Linked DNA regions of Homo sapiens: region 1 is linked to region 2. The links are contacts of gene promoters, found by promoter capture Hi-C in human tissues and cell types (Jung and others, 2019). All regions are on one chromosome and are shown on one strand. The core of a region is centred on a gene start or on the middle of the fragment in contact, and the rest is flanking DNA. Distances in the headings are between cores, read along the strand shown.

What was found. Contacts are between HindIII fragments. The study calls those that stand out against the background at their distance.
Region 1: a fragment that was not itself captured here is called in contact with the fragment with the promoter of MYH2 in region 2 in 1 of the 25 tissues and cell types used here (spleen).

Annotation. Positions count from the first base shown.
Region 1 is chr17:10,588,027-10,593,315 of GRCh38, forward strand. MYHAS (myosin heavy chain gene cluster antisense RNA) reads left to right here. Exons shown (of 11, transcript NR_125367.1): 4 at 363-397; 5 at 2,617-2,749. Among named protein-coding and RNA genes, the nearest start is that of MYH2, 41 kb to the left of the region's middle. The HindIII fragment of the contact is 7,023 bases long and covers 1-5,289 here.
Region 2 is chr17:10,547,680-10,552,820 of GRCh38, forward strand. It overlaps MYH2 (myosin heavy chain 2), which reads right to left and starts at 1,979. Exons shown (of 40, transcript NM_017534.6): 1 at 1,957-1,979; 2 at 1,696-1,738; 3 at 38-261. The coding sequence starts at 241. The region is part of intron 2 of MYHAS (myosin heavy chain gene cluster antisense RNA); the gene reads left to right. The HindIII fragment of the contact is 30,725 bases long and covers 1-5,141 here.

The DNA of each region.
Region 1 (5,289 bases), core at 622-3,121, 40 kb after region 2:
ACTGGAGTATCATTTCTTTTAGGCCTTTTCAGCTGACAGAGCAAAGAAATAAAAGTGTGCATACAAACCTATGTGTATACACATGTCTGTACATAACAATCTCTATATTAAGCTCAACATGAGTTCATAGTGATGAACTTTATAATCCATTACCACATGGACCATTCTAGCCTCCTCCCCTCGCTTATCTGTAAACTTCCACTTCAAGGGTGAGAAACCTGGCTCCATAGTTGGCCTTCCACTTACTTAGTTGTTCAAATCCCAATATACATGCATAGCAGTATCAGAATTATTACCCTGGACCTCCCTGGGAAACAATCGAGTAGAGTACAGTGCTCATATGCAGTTCCTTTTTCTTTTAGGTTTACAGATGCCATTTATGTCCAGAGCTACTGAGGTCAGCACCTTTTCTCCCCATCTCCTTCAGTAAGATTGTTTCATAAATTTGTCATATAGTTACATTCTCTTATCATAGTCTGCATTCCTTACTGGGATCCCTTGACCTCCTAAATCATTCTTAAAGTCTGCATATATTAAGGTTCATTCTTTGTGCTATAAGTTCTGTGGGTTGTGACAAATACATAATTTCATTTATTTACCATTACAGTATCAGACAAACAGTTTCACTGGTCTGAAAATCCCCTCATTCACCTATACATTCTACTCCTTCTTCCTGAGCCTCTGGCAGCCACTGATTTTTTTAATCTTTCTATACTTTTGGCTCTTATAGAATGTCATATAATTCAAATTATATGGTATGTATCCTTTTTAGACTGGTTTCTTTCGCTTGCAATATGCATTTAATGTTCCTCCATGCTTTTTCCATGACACAATAGCTCATTTATTTTTATCACTCAATAATGCTCCATTGTATGCATGTACCACACTTTGTTTATCCATTTAATTACTAAGGGATATCTTGACCGCTTTCAGTTTTTAGTGATTTCCTAAAGCTGTTATCAACATTCACGTGCAGGTTTTTGTGTGGACATAAGTTTTCAAATCGATTGGATTGGTCAATTCTTTTATGACGTGAAACTCAAAGGGAAAAGTGGATCTTTTTCATCTAAACCTGGTAGGAGAGGATAAATCACTTTCCAGTGGTTTGTGATTCCTTTATAATTATATAAAACTAATTCTTTTCATTTCTATCCAACTTATTTATTTATTTATTTATTTATTTTGAGATGGAATCTTGCGCTGTCGCCAGGCTGGAGTGCAGTGGTGCGATCTCGGCTCACTGCAACCTCCACCTCCCGGGTTCAAGCCATTCTCCTGCCTCAGCCTCCCGAGTAGCTGGGACTACAGGCGCCACCACCATGCCCGGCTAATTTTGTGTATCTTTAGTAGAGACGGGGTTTCACTGTGTTAGCCAGGATGGCCACCATCTCCTGACCTTGTGATCCACCCGCCTCAGCCTCCCAAAGTGCTGGGATCACAGACATGAGCCACGGTGCCCGGCCTCTATTCAGCTTCTTAAAATTATCATGTTATCAACATTTATCCTCTTCTTCTGCCACTACCACCCTTAGTTTTAACTATAAGCAGCTGTACTAAGACATTCAGCACCTGTTTAGGAACTAAGAAGTTTTCCGTAATATCTATTTGAGCATGAGTACCCTGAGCATGATTGACATAATGATGTACAAAGTGGGCCTTTTCTAGCTACTCACTGAGCAAAACCTGCTGTCGCAAGAAGCATCAATGGGGAATTCTCCAGCGGAATTGCAATGAACTATTCTGGATTCCCAGTTTAAGGGACGGAGGTCGGAGTTCTGCTAACATTCCAAGCTCGACTTTGTCAGTGTTCTCTCTAGTTCTCTTCTTGCTAGTCCCTTAGATAGTGCTTTCATCATGCCGACACTCAGGGCTCTCTCTGATAGTAGGCTCCCATTGTCACTGGGGAGCGAGAGTTGAAATTCTTCACATTAGTTGAATTATGCTATTTGCTGAATGCTGTGTACTGGAGAAGGGAGATCTAGGGCCATCAGGTTCATCTAGAGAATTTTTCTTTGCCCAAAGGCAGGAGCCAAATGTAACAAGATGCTAAGAATTCAAGAAGAAGAATCATCATATAAGATGAGGGGCTGGGTGCAGTGACTCACCCCTGTAATTGCAGCACTCTGAGAGGCCGAGGCAGGAGAATTGCTTGAACCCAGAAGTTTGGGTTCAAGCTTGAGCAACGTGGTGAAACTCTGTCTCTATGAAAAATACAAAAAAATTAGCCAGGTGTGGTGGCACGCACCTGTGATCCCAGCTACTTGGGAGGCTGAGGCGAGAGGATCGCTTGAGCCCAGGAGGTTGAGGCTGCAGTGAGCTGTGGTTGCACCACTGCACTCCAGCCTGGGTGACAGAGTGAGACCCTGTCTCAAACAAAAACAACAAAAGAATCCAAAACCAGGCACTTCCAAACCAGGGAGCATAGGTTGTTTTACAAACTCACTGCCCTTTTCTTTTCCAATATCCCTACTATTTGTTTTGCTGGTGGTTATGGTGATGGGAAAGGATGTAATTGAGAATGGAACATGAAATAAGAACTTGGTCATAACCTGTATAAAACTGTGTCAAAGTTTACTCCTTAAATGTGTACTTGAAACACCCATTTCTTGTTTCCAGGGTGCCAACAGATGTCGTTTTGTAAGAAAAGCTCCCCAAAATTCTGTGCATCGGACTCATTTATGCAATCTCTGCCTACATTGGGACCCCACTGAAGCCACGACCCCTAAGGCAGGGCTGGACTGCCTTGCAGGTCTATGAAGTTCTCCATTCCAAATCTCTCTCAATTGTGATTTGCATTCTACATTTATAGGCAGATAATTAGCTACATTGCAATGTCTAATATCTTTCATATATATATATATTTTTGTTTTTTTGTTTTTTTTGAAATGGAGTCTCACTCTATTTTCCAGGCTGGAGTGCAGTGGCAGGATCTAGGCTCACTGCAAGCTCCGCCTCCCGGGTTCACACCATTCTCCTGCCTCAGCCTCCCGAGTAGCTGGGACTGCAGGTGCCCGCCACCACGCTCGGCTAATTTTTGTATTTTTAGTAGAGGCGGGGTTTCACCGTGTTAGCCAGGATGGTCTCAGCCTCCTGACCTCGTGATCTGCCTGCCTCGGCCTCCCAAAGTGCTGGGATTACAGGCATGAGCCACTGCACCTGGCCTCACATATATATTTATACAGATATTTCAGTGCCCCTTCGGAGGCTTATGTCCTGAGGTACATGTTTGGCAAATATCAACATTCTATAGGAAATTTCAACTGGACCTATTTACAGATTAAATAAGACATTAACCTAAAAACAGAATCACCAATTGACATTTATTTATTTATTTATTTATTGAGATGGAGTTTCGCTCTTGCTGCCCCAGGCTGGAGTGCAGTGGCACAATCTCAGCTCACTGCAACGTCCACCTCCCAAGTTCAAGCGATTCTCCTGCCTCAGCCTCCCAAGTAGCTGGGATTACAGGTGCCTGCCACCACGCCCGGCTAATTTTTGTATTTTCAGTAGAGATGGGGTTTTGCCATGTTGGCCAGGCTGGCCTCGAATGCCTGACCTCAGGTGATCCACCTGCCTTGGCCTCCCAAAGTGCTGAGATTACAGGCGTGAGCCACCGTGCCCAGCCCACCAATTGACTTTTGAAATAAGTGTTGGTATTATGAACTATTCATACATGCCAAAGAACATATATAGAATATATGTGTTGTTTAAATCATAATAACATAAACACGTGGTATCCTCCAGCTAGTTTAAGAAACACCCAGCAAAGGTATTTGCCCTCAAAGAGTCCTGTGTGCCCCTTCCTGCTATCCTTTCCAAGTTTTTCTCCCCTTACAGCTGAGGTCTTTCAGAATGTAGAAGGACCTCATACGCTTCACACTGGGACCTACAGAGGCTACCCAACTCTCCAAGGTGACCCAGAGACATAGAATGGTACCTGTTTCTACTAATTCCTGCTCCAGTGAGTTTTTCACTACATCAAATTTTTGACATTTATTTTGAACAAGGAATATTTTTCAAGTCAAAATAGGTACCTAATGGGCTGGGTGCAGTGGCTCACGCCTGTAATCCCGCACTTTGGGAGGCTGAGGTGAGCAGCTCACCTGAGGTCAGGGGTTTGAGACCAGCCTGGCCAACATGGTAAAACCTTGTCTCTAGTTAAAAATACAAAAATTGGCCGGGAGTGGTGGTGGGCACCTGTAATCCCAGCTACCCAGGAGGGTGAGGCAGGAGAATTGCTTGAACCTGGGAGATGGAGGTTACAGTGAGCTGAGATCGTAACACTGCACTCCAGCCTGGGTGACAGAGTGAGACTCTGTCTCAAAACAAATAAAAATAAAAAGTAGCTAATGATTATTATCTATAAACATCCTCTATTCGTTTTCAGCTCATATAAATGTTTCTTTTTTCTAGATCCTCAAAGGAGCAAAGGCTCAAGATTTCTATCTCATCACATAAAGAAAAAAATGAGGGAATGGAAGGGATTTATAAATACCAGAGACTATAACTCTGTGACTATAAAACAGTGACAAATTCTGACAAAGTGCTACTTAGAATCCTCTACGATCGGGTGGTACTCAGAGGTCCATGGGCCAGCAGCATCAGCACCAGCTGGGAGTTTATTAGAAATGCAGAATTTTGGGCCATGCCACAGGCTACTAAATCAAAATCTGCATTTAACAAGATCCCCAGGTGATTCATATCACAATATAGCATGCTTCCTAGTCCGATGTCCAAGATTCATAGTTAAATTTTCACTTAATTCACATTTAAGGCAGAGAAAATTATTTTTAAAACTCTGGGAATTTCTCATAAGAAAATAAGAATAGTGTTTTCTAGAATGGTTTTATCTCCTAACATATTGTTTCTTATGTACGCACTATTAATGCATCCTTTTAAGTGAGTAATCAGTTGTGGTATCTTTATCACTTAGACATTTGATGCTGTCCTAAGGTAAATACCAGTGTGGGAAAAAAAAACCACAGTCTTATCTCTTACTTCTGCTGGTCTAGAGGTGGGATCAGTAGCATGCATGTGAAGTTTCAGATTGCGCTAAATGAACTCATGTCAACTTCTTTCAGCATCATTGTTAGTGACAGTTTTGAGGACATGGTGATAAAATAAGGAAATCTATTGAGTCAGCAGTGCAAAGTGAAATGCAGAAAGTGCAACAGAAAGTGTGAATCCGGAAAGTTAATTCCTGTGTACGTGTGTTTTGATTGCCATTCATATGTCAAACCCTGAACTATAAGTCCTGAGTTACATGAATAATAACCTCTCAGCAAATTG
Region 2 (5,141 bases), core at 729-3,228:
TCAATAAAATGTGGCAAGCTCCTGGGATTCTACTCACCGCTCCTCCCTCAGTCTTCACCGTCACTTTTCCTCCTTCTCTGCTCTGGATGGTCCCTTTGACAAAGGATTCTTTGGGCTCCGCCACAAAGACAGATGTTTTGGCATCAAAGGGCCTATTCTGGGCCTCAATGCGCTCCCTTTCAGACTTTCGGAGGAAAGGAGCAGCCTCCCCAAAAACAGCCAATTCTGAGTCTGAACTCATGGCTGCTGAACTCAGAGGTCCTAAAGGAGATAAAACTTTCACATTAGAGAGTCTGGATTGCCATGTATACCAATAAATCTTAATATTTATTGTATTTCATAGGCCCAGTTGGAAATTCCACTAGACAGGTCTACTGTTCACCATACTATAGTTACTGAGACAAACATAATCACAAGAACGAAAATGCATCAGGTGGTCTCTGTGTACCCAATGCCGTATTTAGGGCTTTGCATCCACTGTCTTATTTCATCCTCCAGGACTCACATTCTCATTGGGAACTGAATTACAGTCCAGTGCTGCTGTCAAGTAGCTTGTGACCTTGGGTATGTCACTTGATGTTTTTGAGCCTAAGTGACTCCATCTTTAGAATAGGGATTATAAATTCTGCCTTTCTAAATTCACAGCCCATGATATATGTGAAGATACTTTGAAAAAGAGGTTTAAATGATGACTGAGAAAGTAATTTGAAATTGTTCAGGCCACCATTTATATATGAGATGTCATGAATTATCATGTCACAAAATTCCATGTCTTGAATGTAATGTAGAAGAACTTTATTTCCTCCTTTACCTGTTCAGCCAGATTTGTTGAAGTTCAGTGGCTTATTGGAGATTATAATTTTGTTTACCTTTTTTTCTTTTAGGTTAGGTGCTTAGTATAGTTTCTCTGACATAATTTTTTGCATATTAAATACAGTTCATCAGTTTAACCCCCTTAAACTAATTAGGGATAAAAACAGTAGCCAACGTTAACCTCATTCTTCTACATCTAAGGGCTCCCTTTACTATTCCAAATTTTCCTTTGAAGCATGCAGGCCCTGTTTGCTCCGTTCTATGTGATCTGTAGGTTGCCAGTGGTATCAGTAGAATGAAAGGTTTGGCAAATAATTCTACCGCAGTCATTACATGATCAAATTACTTGAAACTCATTTGAATCGTCTCTTCTAGTCTCTCCCTTTAGAAATGCAGTAAGTAGTGGGAGGGCAGATTAATACCTCTATTATATATAAGAAAAATGCCACAGCACTCGGCATTGTGTAAGGTGACTTTTTACAAGGGCTTTAAGAAGTTTAAAGAAAGGATTGTCTTACTTCCATTTTACATTGTTGGACATTATGTTTACTAAATGAATTCTAACAGCAGGATACATTTTTATCAAATTTGAGATTTTTAGCCAGGGAATCTGAGGGTAGACTCTTTTTTTCCTGCACAGACAATATATTTATTCAAAGCGATTCCCCTGCTCAAATGTCACCCCACCAATGCTTGAGCCGTAAATGAGGATGTGTGCATTGTCCTGAAAGGACAGTCCTCCCTTTCTCACCGCTTTCCTGAAGCACAGTTGTTAAAGGGTATTTACTGAGACAAGCACTTTCTGAAAGGTTGCTAAGTGACAGAAATCCATCCCAGAGCCTCTTGCATTCTCCTCCAGGAACTGGTTAGTCCAAATCTTACCTTGTTAGCAAGTGAGAAGATGTAGCCTGGGAGTGAGACAGTTCTATAAAAGAAAAGGGAAAAGCACTTGATTAGTTGACCAAAAAGAGGGGGAAAAAATCCCATTTATGGCATGGCTTGCTATTGTAAACAGAAGTAACAAAATTCATAGAGGTAAAACGTGCAGTTCCAGAAGGAGCAGTACCAGAACTAGCAGCTGCTGCTGACACTGGGCGGTGTGACCAGTGTCCCTCTTGAAAGGCCCGTCCTGCTCCCACTTACCTTGGAGCTTTTTAAAGCAGGACGAGTCAGCCTCATTCCAAGGGCTCTTTTATATGGATAGCTATGGAAACAATGCAGCTGCCTCTTCTTTCTTAAGTCAAAAGGAATTGTTTGGCAAAATACCTCTTGGCAATCTAGCGTCCCCGCATAATTCTCATTCATATTAAGAATGGTTGGATATAATTAGAAATATTTTTCTTATTGAGTATGTGGATAAATCTCCTATGGATAATTTGAGAAGATGATCTGAAAGAGTCAAGCTGGTGGATAAAGGCAGTGGCTGGGCAGCCAGGATACCTGGCTTCCCTCGGAACTTCTTTTTGGCTTTGCTGGGCACAGCATTCGGGCTTGCCTCGCATCACTTTCGCATATTTCACGTGTTAAGTCACATAAATAAAATACAAATATGTATTTTAATTTTGTGACAGTTAATTTTTACCTGTTGGTCCTTTCTTTCCAGCCCTGCAAAATTAAGCGATGTGCCTTCAACAACTTAAAGAGACAGAAGGTCCTCTCTGTTATTCCAATATTCCTGTAGTTTCAGGAATTTCCTTGCTCGCTCACCTTTTTGCTTTTGCCAAAGTTGTTCCCTCTACTTAGCACACCATTTCCTGTCCCCCTACCCATTTGACTTGCCTGAAATAAAAAAGGTTGAATATTTTCTAGTAGCAGAGGTGTTTTTAGAGAGTACTTTTCAACATTTTTTCGTGTCATAGCCCGCTGAGAAAAAAATGACAATATTAGTGTAGCATGCTAGAGTAATGTGGAAGGGATTTGTCTATATCTGTAAAGGGCTTGGGGAGAATATTTTTAATTTTTTTACATTCCTTTATGTAATATAAATATAATAACTATGATACACATAGCATTAAGGAAAATATTAAATACTGAATATGTCGGAAACTTACAAATAATATCTTCTTGAAAATCCTAAGGAAAAATTTGAGCTATATCCTACAAATAAAACTTGTTTGTTTCTGACTTTATTCTTGAAATATGACACAAATTTCCAGATCAAATTTTCAAAAATGATACAAACAGTATCTGTGTTCTTGATAATTACCATAGCGGGGATTTTTGTCCAAGAAGGAGGGATGAAAATGGAAAACCAAGTAATTTACAACTGTTGGAGTATTTTAAAAATTCACCAGTTCTTCTTTCTCCTTCATTGAAAAATATAATGTTGAATATTCTCGTACAGTGAAAATAAGTTTTTAATCCATTTAAACTCTCTCTTTCATATCAAATATTTCAAAGGATAATGAAGCTCTAATCTTCAAAAACTTCATGGGTTAAAGGAGTCATCAGCATTGGTCAAAGGGCACACCAGTCACAAATACACACAAGTACCTGATCTATTCAAAGTCTAAGGTTTGGAGCTATTACTGTGGGCTACCTCTTCCAGTACAACCTACTTAGCCTTCTGGCACCTTTACTCTGGCTGGATGCTCTCTGGGCTGCATGCCTTGTCCCAGGCATCCTGGAACACCAACCCTCCCAGCAATTCCAGGGGTCTCTTGACTGCAGAAGACAGCATTACATTCTCAGCTGGCTGCTGAAGTCCTTCTTGGTTCCATCCAGCACATGGCAAATACCACCATTGTGCTTGCCTCCTGTAGGAATCATAGGTTATGCTGTCAGACTCGAATGCAGCCCAGTCAACACTCTGAGGAACCCTTAGTCAGCCTTCTCCCAGCTAGGAGCCACCTCCCAAGGTCCCCCTCCCCATCCAGCCATTCTGAGACTGAAGAGATCAACATTTTATGGCACATCAGTTACCTTTTTGATGCCAAGATACACTGGTTGGGAAGCTCTGTTTTAAGGTGAGCTGTTGAGCTGTTTTTCCAAACTAAACAGCCATTTTTAGTGCCCACAGCAATAGTTTAATATTCTCTTGTTCCATCTCTGCTGCCAATGGGCATTTTCCTTATGTTTTATTAAATAGTTCTTATTTTATGTTATTTACAAAATGATCTTCACTTTTTTTTTTTTTTTTGAGATGGAGTCTCACTCTGTCACCCAGGCTGGAATGCAGTGGCATGATCCCGGCTCACTGCAACCTCCGCCTCCCGGGTTCAAGCAATTCTCCTGCCTCAGCCTCCCAAGTAGGTGGGACTACAGGCACATGCCACCACGCCCAGCTAATTTTTTTGTATTTTTAGTAGAGATGGGGTTTCACCATGTTAGCCAGGATGGTCTCAATCTCCTGACCTTGTGATACACCCGCCTCGGCCTCCCAAAGTTCTGGGATTACTGGTGTGAGCTACCGCGCCCAGCCTGATCTTCAATTTTAAGTCAATCCATGGTTCTATATTCTGTTTCCTCATTTGGTAAACTCCTTCAGTGAATACTGTGTTCTATAGGTAGCCGCTGTCTAATACATTGTTTTTGACTATAAAGAAGAAAATGCAAAGCCTTGTTCCCAGTAATTAAGAGACACACCTTAATTGTTCCCGTGCCACTTGGCTCAGGATCTGTGACTGTTAAATGTTCTCTGAGAACAAGAGCTTAAGGAATATGTCATTCGGGATCATCTTTTCCACTATGTAAACAGGTCAAAGACATACATTCACTTTGTGTCCTTTTCTTGATTTCATTGTATTTTTACCACTGCTGCAATAAGTCAGAGGCTTTCTACTTTGCATTGCTCACACCTGGGACTATCTGTCACATTTTGGTGTGGTGACAGCTTGGGAATGAGCTAATTTAAGAGTGCTGATACTCTCTCTGAATCTCCTTGCATTGTCTATGCCATGCAAGGAGATTCAGAGAGAGTAGCAGCCACTGATCTGGTCTTCAGGAAGGTTACAATCTGAGAAATCGGGAGAGCACTAATAGATGGCTCAAGTCACCTTCAGAACAACGTGACGGCGGCCTTTAAAAGTTACAGTGTGTAAATCCTTTGCAGAAAAGGATCCATATTTTCTGCATCTACTTGATCCTCATCAACACTTAGGATAGTGCTGACATGTAGAAAGTGCTCTGAAATTCTAGTTTATAAATTCTCAGATGCCCTGGGTTTCTTTATCCTAATCATTCTTGTCCCCAATAACTGAAATTGGGACCTGGATTTAACTTTTGGCTGCATACCAGCTGGATATCCTTGGAAATTTACTAAACCTTCTCAAGACTCAGCTTCCTGCTCTATAAAAGGGATAAGTGCTACCTCATAGGGGTTTGTGAGG